3 separate regions of the Homo sapiens genome follow, and all the other regions are linked to region 1. Evidence: promoter capture Hi-C in 16 types of primary human blood cells and fetal thymus (Javierre and others, 2016). All regions are on one chromosome and are shown on one strand. The core of a region is centred on a gene start or on the middle of the fragment in contact, and the rest is flanking DNA. Distances in the headings are between cores, read along the strand shown. Region 1 holds the start of PICK1 (protein interacting with PRKCA 1). Region 2 has its middle 4.0 kb from the start of TPTEP2-CSNK1E. Region 3 holds the start of LOC105373030 (a long non-coding RNA gene).

Region 1 (2,700 bases), core at 86-2,585:
GCCACCGTGCCTGGCCAGCTATGGGACTTGGGTAAGTCAGCCTCTGTGCATCTCAATTTCCTCATCCATAAAATGTGGATGAGCACCCTTATCAGAGTTCTTCTAACCATGCATGGAGGGCACTAACAGCAACCCAGTCCATAGCAGGCACTCCATAAAAATAGGTCCCCCTTCCCTTTCATTTATTCGATCTCTGAGATTTGAGCCAGGTTCTGTCCTTGTCACCTTATCAGGCATCTATGTAGTATGATGGCCACCTACTCCAGGGAGTCTTCCTCTATTAAACTGTCCACCTCCCACCTCTCAACTGCTCGATTACCTCTCGGTTTCCACTATAAATTAGCATTGACTGGTGTTTTATGATAAGTACTCACGCTGATTCACTTATTCATTCAAAAAACATTCGCTAACAACCTACTGACGTCAAGTCCCTTACTAAGTGCTGAGCATAGAGAAAGGCATTGCACCCACTCCTTGATCTGAAAGAGGATATATTCTAATGGGAAAATCTGTCCTACTAACAACCTATGTTGGGAAGGAAGGGTGTCTACAATATTCCTATTCAACCTTCAAAACCTGGTTCAATTGCTACGTCCTCCATGAAGCTTTCCTTGACCATCCCAGCAGAAGCACTGCTCCATCTGCTTTGCTCTTCTTGTCACCAAGTCATGCTAATAGTGCCCTTATGGCACTGAGCTGTGATTATCCCTTTAACTGTCCACAGCCCCCTACAAATAGTGAGCTCCTGGGAGAGCAGGGTCCATTGCTGCTTCAGTACAACAACTGATCCACCGCTGAGAAGCAAGGGTCTGTGGGACTGGGAAGTCCAGGGAAATGAGGAACTTGGGGCTCCTATACTGCTGGAACTTGGGGGAATAAAATACTCACAGTTTATCCTCTTCGATGTCATAATCCAAGTCTGCAAACATGGTTCCGAGAGTTGGAGTGGGCTGGCTAACTGCCCAGCTCGGTAGGGGAATGGGGAACTGGATCCGGGAGAGAAAGGAGCATAGGATTTAAGGAACCCAAGTGCCTAAATGCCAACGCCACCCCTCCCTCCACCACCTCATACGGGACAGCAGTGCCCTCCTCTTCCCTCTGGAGTGGGATGGGACAGTCTCCGGGTGGGGGGCTGGGTAGGTGATTCTTACTAGGTACAAAGGGGGGCTCCAGGCCAGGGCGATAGGCTCAGATCCCAGAGTCCGCCCCACGGGTCTCCAGGCCCTGGGGAGCTGCCTCTGTCGCTCACCGGAAGCGTTGGTCCCACAGCCGGGTCCCGGCCAGGCTGGTACCTGAACCCACCTGCCGTTCCACCTGGCGGTGGCCGCGATTGTCACGTCACTTCCGGCAAGACGCGGAAGTCCCGGCTTTCCCCCCACTGGATATTTGCTCCAATCCCTGCAGACAATCCTTCCCTTCCCGGCTCCCGGGACGCTCGGAACCAAGAACGAGAACAAGTATTGGCGGAAGCTCGCTGTTAGTAGGAACAAGCGAAAACAGAGGAACGGTCTGGACAGGCTGACAGCGTCTAACCCCGCCCTTTGCCCTGCCGCCGCCGCCATCTTGGGAAGGGCAGGGTTTGTCCCAGCTTCCTCAGCTGCACTCAGGGGCCCGCGCCGGCCCGGCGGTTGCCATGGCAACGAAAGCATCCCTGAGCCGGGGTTACCTCCGGCGAGGCTCAGTGGACTATAAACCCCAAGACATCATGCCCTTTCACCCCTTCACCACCTGGGCCTGTGACTCCCCTACTAGAATGGCCCTTTGAGGTCCCAGCCCATCCCAGTTTCGCCAACTTAAGTGCCAAAGAGCGGGGAGTGATTTTGTGCGGGGCCACACACAGTTGGTGTAAGATCTGGATCGTGGCCCTGAAACTCCCGCCGCCTAGTCTAGGGATCTTTGAACGTCCAAACACTAAACAGAGAGCCAGGAGAGGTGTATTCAGTGGGTCTTGCTATTAAGGACAGACTGGACATGCTCCCTTCCCTTTATGTGCCTCAGTTTCCCCATATGTAAACCAAGGCCATTGAGGTAAATGCTTTCTATGGTATATGGTGAAAGGTTTCTCACACCCCCTCCTCCTTCCTTAGTCCTGAGGAGCAGCCCCCCTGGGGTCCCAGGGAGGGTCACGGTCCGCATGTACCTGAGGCTCGGGAAATGCTATCAGTGCTCCCCAGAGTCCGAATCTTGTCTCCTCGCCAGCCTCTGCTGCCACTGCTATTGTGTAAAGTGGGTTCCCTGGGGGAGGTTGGCTCTCCCAGAGCCACAGCCAGGCATCCACCTCATCCGGCAGCATGGGGCCAGGCCCATCCAGCTTGCTTCCCCAGCTGCCCCAGGAGCCATGGAAGAAAGATACAGAAGGATGATTATCCACATATCCCACGGCCGGTGGAAGCCCCGCCCTACTCTCTCCTTAGGTGGCTAATTGAGTCCGGACAGATGTGCAGAATGCCGTGACAATAACAGCCTTCCCACGTGTCCACTGCTCTCCTGTGAGATCACTTTCACAGGATTTGAAAGCTCACCACCACCCTGTGAGAGAAGACCAAATCTTGCCAGCCACATTGTGCAGGCAAGGAAACGGAGGCCCTGGGAAGCCTCTTCCTCTGGTATCATAGCGGCAGGGCTGGGGCTGGGAAAACCAAGCTCTGTTTCCAGGCCAGAATTTTGGTTTCAAAAAGCAGCAGTCTAAGGCCAGGTGCG
Region 2 (2,700 bases), core at 98-2,597, 350 kb before region 1:
AGTGCTAGGGGAGGGCGGGAGGGAAGAAGCTTTGCTCAGCACCCAGCAGAAGTGAGGATAAGGACTAACAGGCTTTATTTGGAACCAGGGAAGTCATGCAAATATATGCAAAAGATCATGCAAATGAGCCTGGCTGGGTGGCCGGTGGGAAGAGGACCCAGCTGGCGATTTTGTTCCTAAGTGTGGTCCAGGGCCACCTGTGACAGAATCACCCAGGAGCTCATCCTGGCCCCTGCCACCCATAGCCCTGCTGCTTCCTCCCTTTGGGGCTGCAGCCCAGGAGTCCACATGCCCAGGGAGCTCCCGGGTGACGACTGACTTCCGCATTCATTCATGGACCTGCGCGTGGTGACGCATTATAATGATACCACATTATAATATGTAACACAGACATTCAAGCAGAAAAGTATGTCTCCCTCCCACCCCCATTCCCAGACACAACCCCCGGTGCCAATTCCTTGTGTGTCCTTTTTTTTTTTTTTTTTTTGAGACAGAGTCTCACTCTGTTGCTCAGGCTGGAGTGCAGTGGCGTGATCTTGGCTCTCTGCAGCCTCCGCCTCCCAGGTTCAAACAATTCTCCTGCCTCAGCCTCCTGAGTAAATGGGCTAACAGGCGTGCACCACCATGCCCGGCTATTTTTTGTATTTTTAGTAGAGACGGTTTTCGCCATGTTGGCCAGGATGGTCTCCAACTCCTGACCTCAGGTGATCTGCCCGCCTTGGCCTCCCAAAATGCTGGGATTACAGGTATGAGCCACCGTGCCTGGTCCCTTGTGTGTCCTTCTGGAAGCTACTCTATACATTCCCAGGTGATTCCGCCTCCAACTGTTCAGATCCACTGCATCTTTGCATCTTAGGGCGATGCCTCTGGGTCACTCTGAAACTGAACTGTCACCCTTACATGTCTTTATTCACTTACTCAAAATTCCTGAGGAGGCTGCTGAATGCAGGGCCCATGCCAGGCACAGGGGAGACTCCGCTCTGCCCTCAGGAGCTCGCAGGAGATGGGGAGCCATTCATTTACAAAAGGCAGCAGCCCAGTGGTTAGAGCCCCAGCTCTGCAGTCAAGATGCTGGGTTCGGCAAGACCTCTCCTTCCCTGAGGGTAGTAATGGTACTTGCATCTCAGGGCAGCAACGTCATGGGCAAGAGGCTCATGCAAGCGTGAGAGCAGAGCAGTGTCTTTAATAAATGCTGCTTTCCTTCCAGAAAACAAGACTTTGCCTAGAGCAGATGCAATGGGGTCAGGGAGGCTTTTTGAACATTCGCTGGCCAGGCTTGGGGCCAATCGGTATGAGCTGCTGGTGGCAATCAGGGCTTCTCTCTCTTTTCTTTTTTCTTTTCTTTTCTTTTTTTTTCTTTCCTTCCTTTCTTCCTTCCTTCCTTCCTTCTTTTCTTTCTTCTCTCTTTCTTTCCTTCCTTCCTTCTTTTCTTTTCTTTTTTTCACCCAGGCTGGAGTGCAGTGGCATGATCTCAGCTCACTGCAACCTCCGCCTCCCAGGTTCAAGCGATTCTCCTGCCTCAGCTTCCCGAGTAGCTGGGACTATAGGCAAGCACCACCACACCCAGCTAATTTTTGTATTTTTAGTAGAGATGTGGTTTCACCATGTTGGCCAGGATGGTCTTGATCTCTTGACCTCGTGATCTGCCCACCTCGGCCTCCCAAAGTGCTGGGATTACAGGCTCGAGCCACCGCGCCCGGCTGGGCTTGTTTTCTTGTCCCATTCTCAGGCAGAGCTCTCTCTGGCTACGGTTCCAGTGCTGTGGGGCCTGGATGGGCAGCTGTGACAACAGAAGGTCCACAGCCCTTGGCCTGTGTTCAGGGGCCCCGGGGCCAGGGGGAGCCCGGCAGTCTCTCCTGTGCTCATTCTGAGTCTCTCTGAATCAGCCCTTACCTTCAAGGCCTGCCTCCTCCAGGCAGCCTTCCTAACTGCTTCAGCCAGAAGGGGAAGGGGAGGACATGCTCACCACCCGCCGGGCTTACTAAATACCTGCTGCTGGGTCCAGCGCTATGACATTAAAATAAATAAATAAATAAAAAATAAAAATAAACTCTAGTTTAATCCTTCCAACCCTTATGGAAGGAGGCATTTCACACCCACAGGTGCGGCAACTGAGCCTCAGAAAGGTGAAGAGACTTGCCCAAGGCCGCCCAAAGAATCAGCCTCCATGTGGGCTCTAAGTCTGCCCTGTTCCTGTCTTTGGGACTCCCGCCCGGAGAGCCCGAGCCCCTCAGCAGCAAAGTCCCAGGGACTGTGGAGGGACTGGGATAGCTGGACTCCTGTCGGCAGGGATGCTCATCACTGGGTGACCTTGGTGACATGGCCCGCTCTCCTTCCTCCCTGGAACTCGATGATCTCATCTATCAAATAGTGCCTGGCCTGCGACCCAGGGAAGCTGGGAGCATGTCTTGTCTATACCTCCAGTCCCTCTGGGCCCCTCTCCCAGCCTCCACACACTTCTCCAGCTCAGAGGGTGCCAAACAAGCTCAGCACCCCCTGCTGCTCCCCACCAGGCCCCTTCCAGTCCCACAGTCCCCCATTTCCTGGGCCAGAGTCCTGAGCAAACCCTTGGAGTCTTCCTTTTCTTGCCCCCACATGCAGTCACCAGGTCCTTTAGCTTCTCCCAACAAAGGGCCCCAGCTGGCATCTGTCTCCACCAAGCTTTGGGCTCCCCACAGGTGGGCTCAGGTTGACTCAGCT
Region 3 (2,700 bases), core at 37-2,536, 370 kb before region 1:
CCTTGAGGCCCTCAACGCCAGCCACCTTGGCCCTTGGATGGTGTTGGGTTTGGGTGCAGAGGAGGGACTCTGAGGGGTGGGATGAGGGACCATCCCTCCCTCCCTGCAGTCCCTCCAGCCCCGGGCCCAGCCCAGATTGACAACAGAGTTTGTAACCATATATATATATATATATATATATTTTTTTTTTATTTTTTATTATTATTTTTTTTTCTTGAGACGGAGTTTTGCTCTTGTTGCCCATGCTGGAGTGCAATGGAGCAATCTCGGCTCACTGCAACCTCCGCTTCCCAGGTTCGAGCGATTCTCCTGCCTCAGCCTCCTGAGTAGCTGAGATTACAGGCATGAGCCACCATACTCAGCTAAGTTTTGTATTTTTAGTAAAGATGGGGTTTCACCATGTTGGCCAGGCTGGTCTCGAACTCCTGACCTCAGGTGATCCACCCACCTTGGCCTCCCAAAGTGCTGGGATTACAAGTGTGAGTCACCGCACCCAGCCGTAACTATATATTTTTAATAAAGTACATGGTCCATTAGGGGTAGGCTGGTTGAAGATGGAGGGGTGAGAAGGAGAGAAAGAGAGTGAGCAAGCACACATGTAATTGTGCCTGTGTGTGTCGTGTGTGTGCCTGTGTGTCATGTGTGTGCCTGTGTGTTATGTGTGTGCCTGTGTATGTGGCCCTTTCTGAGTGACTGACCCTTGGAGGGAACTTTACCACCTGCCATTCTCCTTCCGGCGAGTCAATAGAAGGATCTGGAGTTGGCATCAAAGAACCAAAAGCTTTGATGTCAGAGCTTTGTTACCTAGTAGCTGTGTGACTGTCAGCTCTTGGCCTCAGTTTCATCCTCTGCAGAATGGGATTAACCATCCCTCCCGCCTGCAATGATGGGCAGGACAGCCCTGTGTGGACGTCAGCCAACCCTTCCTAACTCAGGTGGAAGTGGGAAGGGCCCACCCGATCCGCACCTCCCTACATACATGCAGATCCACACACCGCTGGTAGAGCTGGCGGCAGGACACTGATGGGAAGGGCACAGGGGCCAGGAAACCTGGTCACAGACTTAACCAAGACAGGCTTGGTCTCTGCTCTCTGTGGGACCTCGGGTAAGTCCCTTCCCTTCTCTGCCTTCGGTTAGCCTATGCTCTATAACCAGCCAGCACAAAACAGAGACCAATGACGCATCCTCTCTTAGGGTCCTGTGGGTGGGCTGGGGTTCCTAGCTGATTTCTCCTGGGCTTACCCGGCAGCTGTGCTCAGCTGGAACATCAGTGGGCCTGGAAAACCCCCGATGAGCCCATGTACATGTCGGCAGCTGGTATGGCTTTCTGGGGTGGTGGTGGGGTTTGGTTCTCCTCCAATAGGCTGCATCACATTCCTTCATGGCGACTCCGGGCAGCAACCTACGAGGGCAAAGGTAGAAGCTGCAAGGTCTCCGGAGGCCTAGCCCCTTGAACTTGGATAACATCATTTCCACTGCAGTCTATCGGCCAGAGTCCAGGTCACGAGGCCAGCCCAGATTCAAAGGGTGGGAAATTAGTTTCCACCTTTTGGGAAAGAGGCAAAGTCACATTGCCAAGGACATGCCGAGCAGGAGGGAGCTGTGGCCATAGTTGGTCATCTATCCCAGAGCCTTGGAGTTTGAGGGTTCCTCCCACCCGACTTCTACTCTACAGGCTGACTGTGTGCCCCAGGCTGAAAGGAAGCAGAAGGCACCCTTCTGGGTCCCAGGGATCTTCCACACAAAGGTGCCAGCTGCCTCTAGAAACAGGGAACCAGCAGGCAAGCTTACCTGCTGTGCAGCACAGCGAGCTGCCTTGTGAATGACCACGTCTCACCAGCCCCGGCAGCATAGCTGCCGTTTGGGTGGATCACTGTGCACCCCGTATGCTGCGCTGCTGCAGAAGGAAACTTGAGGCCTCTTTCCTGGAGACAGAGCCAAGCTCAGGATCCAAGCCTCCCAATAGATAACTCATAATGTCTCTCATTTGCATAACACCTTTCACGTCCTTGGGTTCATTGAACTCTTACGAAACTCCAAGAGGAAGCCAGGACAAGGATTATGGCCTCCTTTTACTGATGAGGAAATAAATAGAGGCCCAGAGAACCAGGGGGCTGGCTGGAAACAAAGTGAGGACAGTCAGAGGCCCGGGAGCCTGCTTCTCCTTCACTCCATCCTCTCCCAGGTGGGGGCTCAATGAGGGGGAGGGGCTGCTTCCTTTCCTCCTCTGTGCCCTCCCAGATTTCCCAGAGTGCACCTGTGGCCTTTGGCCCCCACCCCCACCGAAGAGCCTGTGGGGGCCGCTCAGCAAGAAGGAAATTCAGTGGCGCATCTGCCCACATTCTGGAAGGACCCCTGGTCCCCTTCTGTCAGGTGAGTACCCCAGGGTCTCAATCCTGACCCTGGAGGCTCATGAGAGATGTCCCTCTATCCAGCCCTGCAGGCCCTGGGTGGGTCTCGCCAGGTCTCCCCACTCCTCCCACCACATCCCCAGGATGCCACGGCTTCCTGGGCTACGAGCAGTAACTGAAGAGGATTCAGGCTCAGGTGCTCCCAGACTCAGAAGCCTCCACCTAGAGCACGTCTTAGGGGATGTCTACCCTCCTCTAAGATGTGCGAGAGGCCCGGATGCAGGGTGGGGAAGGGGTACATGTGGGGTTACCCCCAAGAGGGCCCATCATCCACCATCCAGAGCAACAT

The links. The method cuts DNA at HindIII sites, captures the fragments that hold promoters and counts their contacts. A CHiCAGO score of 5 or more calls a contact.
Region 2: a fragment that was not itself captured here is called in contact with the fragment with the promoter of PICK1 in region 1 in 3 of 17 cell types (endothelial precursors, M0 macrophages and total B cells); the score reaches 5.8 in endothelial precursors.
Region 3: a fragment that was not itself captured here is called in contact with the fragment with the promoter of PICK1 in region 1 in 1 of 17 cell types (endothelial precursors); the score reaches 6.0 in endothelial precursors.

Annotation. Positions count from the first base shown.
Region 1 is chr22:38,056,039-38,058,738 of GRCh38, reverse strand. It overlaps PICK1 (protein interacting with PRKCA 1), which reads right to left and starts at 1,335. Exons shown (of 13, transcript NM_012407.4): 1 at 1,152-1,335; 2 at 889-986. The coding sequence starts at 929. RefSeq lists enhancers at 634-1,257, 1,502-1,561, 1,258-1,883. The HindIII fragment of the contact is 5,557 bases long and covers 608-2,700 here.
Region 2 is chr22:38,401,538-38,404,237 of GRCh38, reverse strand. No RefSeq gene overlaps it. Among named protein-coding and RNA genes, the nearest start is that of TPTEP2-CSNK1E, 4.0 kb to the right of the region's middle. RefSeq lists a cis regulatory region at 1-98 and enhancers at 1-224, 225-726. The HindIII fragment of the contact is 2,632 bases long and covers 32-2,663 here.
Region 3 is chr22:38,423,515-38,426,214 of GRCh38, reverse strand. LOC105373030 (a long non-coding RNA gene) reads left to right here and starts at 1,997. Exons shown (of 5, transcript XR_938254.4): 1 at 1,997-2,373. LOC101927183 (a long non-coding RNA gene) reads right to left here and starts at 1,937. Exons shown (of 3, transcript XR_938252.3): 1 at 1,792-1,937; 2 at 1,243-1,402. The HindIII fragment of the contact is 1,005 bases long and covers 784-1,788 here.